2 separate regions of the Homo sapiens genome follow, and region 2 is linked to region 1. The links are contacts of gene promoters, found by promoter capture Hi-C in blood cells and fetal thymus (Javierre and others, 2016). All regions are on one chromosome and are shown on one strand. The core of a region is centred on a gene start or on the middle of the fragment in contact, and the rest is flanking DNA. Distances in the headings are between cores, read along the strand shown.

The links. The method cuts DNA at HindIII sites, captures the fragments that hold promoters and counts their contacts. A CHiCAGO score of 5 or more calls a contact.
Region 2: a contact is called between a fragment that was not itself captured here and the fragment with the promoter of FRY-AS1 in region 1, in 1 of 17 cell types (fetal thymus). The highest score is 10.1, in fetal thymus.

What each region holds. Positions count from the first base shown.
Region 1 is chr13:32,029,367-32,033,268 of GRCh38, forward strand. FRY-AS1 (FRY antisense RNA 1) reads right to left here and starts at 2,273. Exons shown (of 4, transcript NR_103839.1): 1 at 2,085-2,273. It overlaps FRY (FRY microtubule binding protein), which reads left to right and starts at 2,408. Exons shown (of 61, transcript NM_023037.3): 1 at 2,408-2,499. The coding sequence starts at 2,430. The HindIII fragment of the contact is 3,062 bases long and covers 1,425-3,902 here.
Region 2 is chr13:33,541,893-33,545,794 of GRCh38, forward strand. It overlaps a transcript of STARD13 not described here. Among named protein-coding and RNA genes, the nearest start is that of LINC02344, 210 kb to the left of the region's middle. RefSeq lists enhancers at 915-1,014, 1,115-1,224. The HindIII fragment of the contact is 1,343 bases long and covers 1,351-2,693 here.

The DNA.
Region 1 (3,902 bases), core at 1,023-3,522:
AAAAGTATTTAGCTTTTTAAAAAAAAGTTCTATTCTAGAGTCACTAAGGATTCATAATAAGAATGAATGGGCCAGGCGCAGTGGCTCATGTCTGTACTTTGGGAGACCAAGGCAGGTGGATCACCTGAGGTCAGGAGTTCAAGATCACCCCAGCCAACACTGTGAAACCCTATTTCTACTAAAAATACAAAAATTAGCCGGGCATGGTGGCGCATGCCTGTCACCCCAGCTACTCAGAAGGCTGAGGCAGGAGAATCGCTTGAACCCGGGAGGCAGAGGTTGCAGTGAGCCAAGATTGCACCACTGCATTCCAGCCCAGGCGACAGAGTGAGATTGTCTCAAAAAAAAAAAAAAAAAAAAAATCAATGTAGCTAAAATTTAATGAAGTGTTAACTATGGGCAAGATACTATGCTGAGCCCCTTTCATACATAGTGTTATTTATTGTTTCCAACAACTATAGGAAGAAGGTACAACCCCATTTTACAGATGAGGAAACGAAGGCTTAGCAAAGTTAATAGCTTACTTTGGGGCTCAAAGCTAGTAAGGGCTGGTGCCAGGAGCGAACATGGGGCCCTGCCTTGAGAGCCCATGCCATCGTTAATCGCAGGGCACTGTGCAGCCTACCTGTTCATTCACTGCCATCTGAGTCTTGGCAAGCATCAGATGGGCGTAGGTATGAAATTTATTTTCAGATATAATAATTGTTTCAAGGTAAAACCTTTGGGTCTTATTTTACCTAGAATCCATACATTCAAAGTACAAGTGATAAAATCAGTTCAGCAACTCTAGTATGCACATGAATTAAAAAGAAGTCAATCTGGTGAGAGATTTCATCAGAATAAAGTGTATAAGTGGAGTTGGAAATCTGAGTGATTGAGTGCTTGCCATTTGGGTAAGTGTAATGAGTTTGAAAAACTAATTGTATTGATGAAGTATCTTAGGGCCTTTCAGAACATAGTTCTAGAAGTTTTATTTAGTGTTGAATTTTAAAAATTCTTTGTCCTAACAATAAAAGTACATTGTAGTCTTTCCCTTCCATTTTTAAAATGAACTGTTAATCTAGGAAGTCCTGTTTGTGTGTTGATTTGGGGAGTTAGCCCAACATTTGCTATGTTAAATACTTATTAACATGGTTTATTACTTTTTTCTGTTTTTTAGACAACATTAATCATGAATGTACTGGGACTTGGGAAGGATCCTGTGGTTTATGAGATAGTTGGCCAAATCCCACCTCTTCCAACATAACCTGTCATTATTAAAATATAATACTCTTATTTAATCCCCTGGTCAAGCTAAATGATAATGTGAAACAAAGCTAACCAAAATCAGGACACCTGATATCAAGAATTCATGAAATCAAGAGCCATTGTAGAGCAAGGAATCTAATGCTTTTGCTTCTTATCCTTTTCATACAAATAAAATAAGCTTCACTGGGCTTAGTGAGTCTTAGAAATGAGAGGTTTGAGAATAAGATCCATTGTGGAGTGTGTGACATTACAAAAACAAGCCAACTAAGCAGTGTGTACTGTCCCCTTAGAGTGCACACGTTCGGGCTCCGATGCCCCTTGAAAAGACTGCATTTCTGGGAGGGAAAAGTAAAAATGCAGATACCACCATGCGTGTGGAAGGCAGGGAAGAAAAAGCCCAGACAAGCGTCCTCTTGTTGAGTCTCTTTACTGCAACGAGGCTGACGGATGGGGTTTTTCAAAACGTCGCTGCAACCAGATGCAAGGCTGCAGCTTTGCTTACCGCAGCGTGCTGCAGTTGTGTTTATTTCAGGGACAGACACAAGGGGAAGCAGCAGCCAGAGCACACCCGGGCCGCTCACGGGAAGCCTTGCTGAAGAGAGAGGATCCGCAGAAGCTGGGAAATTCCTCCCGCAGCCTAGGCGGAGACTGAGCCGCGGCTCAGGTTGAGACAGTGGGCAGGGGCAGGGGGCGGCGCTCCCGGCCCATCCCTTAGCCCCGCGGCGGCCGTGTGGGCCGGAGGCTGCCTGCACCGCGTCAGGGAGGCCGGCCTAGAAACCCTCCCTCCCAGAAGAAAGCCGATCCCAGTTCAGGTGGGGTCTTCCTCGGTTGCGTACCTGGCTGGAGCCGAGCTGGTGGGCGGCCGGCAGCCGGCGTTTCTGGTGATGACAGCCCCGAAATGAAAGCAGCGCGGCCGCCGCCTCCGAGGGCTGCAGGGAGATCAGCGTCCAGCAAATAAGAAGCAAGTCCTGGACCCGGAGGAGGAGGAGCGGCCGAGCATCTCTCTCTGCTCCGCCGTGTCCTTTAGATGAGCACTCCCGGCCGGAGCCGGAGGTGGATCCGCAGAGCTGCCTCTGGGCGCCTGACCCCGCGCTGACATCACAACCTGTGACAGGCGCATCACGCCCGGTACCTGCTCCCGGCCGCTGCCCGTCCTCCCAGCCTCTTTGTATGCCGCAGACATGGCCAGCCAGCAGGATTCGGGCTTCTTTGAGATCAGTATCAAATATTTACTGAAATCCTGGAGTAATAGTGAGTAATAGAAAATAACCTTTTTGTTTGTTTGTTTGCTGGATGTTGCATAAGGCTGGAGACAGAAAATCTCAACTGGACACATATGTTTGTGAGCCGCGGAAGTTTTTCTTTTTTTCTTTTCTTTTCTTTTCTCTTTCTTTCTTTCTTTCTTTCTTTTTCTTTCTTTCTTTCTTTCTTTTTTTGCTCCCATCTGCTGTGAAAATCAAAATGTCAGAGACTGAACTAGCTTTCCTTAAGTGCAAAGGCTGCAATGGAATTACAGTAGATTGTGTTTGATTAAATTTTCAAGTGAGGCAGCCCTTCAGACTCTGGGGGAGCTCAGGATCAGGCATTCCTGGCTGCATTTCCTGCCTTGATGTTTATTTGATTTGTTCAGGCTTTCTCTAAATATTTTGTGAAGTGTGATTTAATCAAAGGGGTGTGGCAGGGTTTCAGAGTACTTTGTAATTGTTTTTTTAGGGTATTGTCTGAAGAAAGAAAAGTATTTAATAGTCCAAAACCTAGGACATCCTTTTTGTATATAGAGGCATCTGCAGATTTATTTCATCTCTCCCTCTTCCATGTGGATGATGTTCTGAATGCCATTTAATATTTGAATTTTTAAAAATCCTGATGTTTGCTATAGTCCAAATATTGTGCTTTTTTGAAACATAAACAAGTGAGGTTCTGACCCTAATTATTTATTAGGATAGCAGAATATGATGGCTCCTGAAGTTCCATTTCTGACCTACATAAGGATTTTAGCAATACGCTATTTCAAAAAGACAACCTCTAAGCTGCCGTGGATCTGGAATCAAATTAAAATGAGGCCTTCAGGTGATCAATGATGCCTTGTATTTTCCGAACTGTTTAAAAAGAAAGTCTTCTCTATTTCACTAACAGCCTTTGTACTTGCTTTGGATAAAAGATCAGCAGGTATTACTGATGCTTTATTGTTTTAAATAAAAAAATTTTTTCCCCGTGAAAATTTTAATATTGTATTATGTGCATACTGATTAACCTACCTGTGCTCAAAGAGCTAGTGATTAATTGTCTCCTACACAAATGACCTGTGGCCAAGATTGTTCTTATATAAACAAAACCTGGGCAGGAGAACCTGTGCTGCAATTGCTTTGAGGAAAAGAGCTAAAGTACCTTCAGCCTTAAGGTATTCAGGGATGTGCATCTCTAAATGATATCCATAGAAACCATTTTTTCCAGGTCATTTTGCACCACTGTATACACTATGGGGCTTGTCTGAAGCTGTTTTTCTACAAGTGGGAAGCCATTTGGGAGTAATACTGTTGCCCAAACAGCATTCTTTACTTGTCATAGCTATAAATCATTTAACTTGGACTCATTATTTTTATAATACTTTACACTCAAGGATGAATCTTCCTTTGTCTATCTGCTCTTTGATT
Region 2 (3,902 bases), core at 772-3,271, 1.5 Mb after region 1:
TTCAGAAACTACTATGGTCCTCCAAAATTCAAAAGTGAAAAAATGACAAAATTTTTCTTTGTAACACATCTGCACAAGAGGCTTTCCTTTAAAATTTGATAAAAGACCAAGGCCACACCAGAAAACACAGAATATAAAACTGTGTATCGACAAAAATTAAAAACTAAACTCCTTAAGAGAATCGCTTGCTAAAAAGTTTAAAAAACACGAAGACATGCTTTCTTAAATAATTTGAAAATGTTTTTGGTTCCACACGAGTAGTCTATTTGTTTGCGTGCCTTTTTTATTCCTTGTGACACCCCTACCTTCTCAGAATAAACACTGAAAGATGAACAGACCGGGGGATCAAGCCGGTTCACTAAGATTTAGAGGGGAAGGCTGGGTCCATCTTAGCACTGAGACCGCACCCAGACTGCATTTGGATCGCTAAGGACTAAGAAAACAGTACAGATCCAGTTTTACCTCTTATACCATTAATTTTCCATAAAGCCTTCCAGAAACCTGACTCACAGCCAGAAACCCAAACCCCGTGGGCGGGATTTAAAACAAAACCCATTACGCCACCATTTCCGCCTTGCCTGCCTAGCAAACGTGCAAACATTGAAAAAGACGCACACGCAGACCGCGCCTACGTCCCCAAAGTGCGCAAGCGCACGGCGAGACCCCGCCCCTCGCCCTCCCACCAAGACGAGGCGCGCGCACCAGCAACCAGGGCCCGCTGGCGCCGCCCCGGGTTTCCGCTCCGGGGCTCGTCGGTCGCCGTTCGGTTCCGGTTCTGGCCCCGCCCTCACGCGGGAACCCTCCAGAAGTCTTAATATCCGGGACCAGAGGCTGGTTGCAGCGCACATTTCCGGCAACGAGCGCAAAGGAAGGGATCCGGTGACGCCTCTTCCCGTCTCCCCAGCGGCCCAGGCTCTGGCTCTCGGTGCGGCAGCGCCATCTGGTGCCGAGTCTCCCGCCACCCGCGGAGGTGGCACGCGCCCTTCTCTCGGAACCTTCCAGAGAAACCGTGGCCCCTGCTTTCCTTTCTCCCGCCCTGGACGGGGAGGGACCCGAGTCTCCGCCCCGCCGAGTTCCCGCGCGGGAGGGACTTTGTGGCGACTCTGAAGCGGAAGCTGCCTGTAGGAGGAGCTTTACAAACCCAAAATGGAGCGGAAACTGTTCTTTCTCTAGTTTTAAGTCCAGAAGAAACGGCGTCCTTTTATTTTTTGCTTCCTTATGCGTTGTTGCTGGGTCATTCTCAGTCTTCCCCGTATCAGTTCTTTAATCTTTGAGGACTGGGACCCTGTATTAATTGCCTGGTAGGAAGATGACACGAGCTTTGTGGCTTACATTGGCCTCTGCTGTAAAAGCTTTTGTTTCCTTTGGCCTATTAAAGCGCTGTTGTAAAAGCCTGCTGTGTATGTTAGGAACCCATCGAGAAGCAGAATGTAGTAATTTGCTTTAAAATAGGCCATGGAAGTTTCAGAAAGGTAGCCTCAGAAATGCTCAATGTAGATTCGTTTGCATGTCACGTTTCTTTTAGATAATCAGAGAAAGGAAAAGTAATTTCCCCAAAGTTAGTAAAATCAACACATTTTCCTTTAATAATGTTCTTTTTTTCCTGTAATCTTGGAGTACTAACAGAGTTGTTCTAAATGTTTTATTGGAATGGTGCTGTGGATATCAAAATATATAATGAAACAAATTTCCTTTAGAGTTTAGATAGCACATGTTAACTTGACTCTTTGATTGTATTTCTCCTATAGTAATGCTTCTCAAACTGGAGCATGCATCCAGATTCTCTAGAAGGCTTGTTAAAACAGATTGCTGGGCCTCAACACCAGAGGTTATAACTGGGAGGGAAGGTCTGAGGATACAGCTGGATTAGTGTAGCTCTAGTAAAATCTCAGGTGATTCTGATGCTGTTGGTACTAGGACCACACCTGGAATAATTTAGAGTTCAGGATTGCTTTGTCAATAATGCTTTTTGCTGTTGCAGGACAGACGGTACTAAAATATACTGGTGATACTAAGCCTGCACAAGTTAGTAGTCCTTTTGACTCCGTGGATGGGAAGTAGTAAACTAAACCCTAGAACCAGTAGAGAGCTACATAAATGTTCACAGATTAAAGCAACCAGTTCATAGAAATGTATTCTGTATATGATCATGTGATAGAGGGTGCTGTAATACCAAGTATACTAAATATTTCAGTTATTATACAGTAATTGTTCTTTAGCTGTTAAATTAGAAATGACTAAAATTAAGGACAAAATAGTTTAAACAATCATACTAATTTTACCCTTTGGAAGATGCCAGGTTTTTTTCAGTCTTTTGCATTTCCTCAAGTTCCCTTGTTTTACGGAATTCTCTACCCCCAGCCCACTCCCATCCCTACCGTGCCATTTATAAATGTACACAGTGCTTACATTATAAAAAATGATCATCTCAGAACTTGTCTCATCTTTTCAGCAGGACTTTTCTCAATTCTGTCAAATTCTGACTGTGCCACTGCCTTTATTGACACAGTAATTAAATCACGCAGTGATTAAAGTGTGCTGCACACTGTAACTTTTGTGCTTGCTACAAATAGAAATACAGATATTGTTAGATAAGTTTATGTTTATGATAATCAGTTCCTAAAATGTAGAAAGCAGTCGGTTTTCTGGTCTCAGTTTTATTTAAATCACTGCTATTTTGTTTACTGGATGTAAGCTTCCCCCTCTCTGCTCTAGCCTGAATGGGCCTTCGTGAAAAGAAGAAAAAAAAGATTGAGAACAACTGTCTTAAAACCATGGTATTTCCCTAATAGGCTAGTACCATGTATTTGGATAATTACTGATGAATCATTTAAATCAGGGAAAGGTGCATGGTTTTGTTTTTTTGTTGTTTTTTCTCTTTTTTTTTTTTTTTTTTTTTGAGATGGAGGCTTGCTCTGTCGCCCAGGCTGGAGTGCAGTGGCCAGATTTCAGCTCACTGCAATCTCTGCCTCCCGGGTTCAAGCGATTCTCCTGCCTCAACCTCCTGAGTAGCTGGGACTACAGGCGTGTGCCACCACACCTGGCTAATTTTTTTGTTTTATTTATTTATTTATTTATTTGAGACGGGGTTTTGCTCTTGTTGCCCAGGCTGGGGTGCAATGGTGCGATCTCAGCTCATCACAACCTCTGCTCCCAGGTTCAAGTGAGTCTTCTGCCTCAGCCTTCCTGAGTAGCTGGGATTACAGGCATGTGCCACCATGCCTGGCTAAAATTTTGTATTTTCCTTAGTAGAGATCAGTTTTCTCCATGTTGGTCAGGCTGGTCTCGAATTCCTGACCTCAGGTGATCCACCCGCCTTGGCCTCTCAAAGTGCTGGGATTACAGGTGTGAGCCACCGCGCCTGGCCTAATTTTTTGTATTTTTAGTAGAGACGGGGTTTCACCGTGTTAGCCAGGATGATCTCGATCTCCTGACCTCGTGATCCGCCTGCCTCGGCTTCCCAAAGTGCTGGGATTACAGGCGTGAGCCACTGTGCCTGGCCCGAAAGGTGAATGTTCTTTGCCTTATTTTAAACTTTATTGTAATAAATTCACTAATGAAGCAGGCAGAGAAGATGTAAAGGACACTTCATTAGTAATGCTATATTTCATATACCTGCTGTATTTTGGGAGCATTATTGCTATCATTTGGTTTGTTGGATCCCTCCAAATCTCACGTTGAAATTTGATCCCCAGTGTTGGAGGTGGGGCTTAATGGGAGATGTTTTCAGACATGGGGGTGGATCCCTGACACAGGGCTTGATGCCCTCCTAGTGATAATGAGTGAGTTTTCTATTAGTTGCTGTCAGAGCTGGTTGTTAAGAGCCTGGCACCTCCCTCCTATCGATTTTCTTGCTGCTTTGTCTTGCTTCCTCGCTTACCATGTGATCTCTGCACATGCTG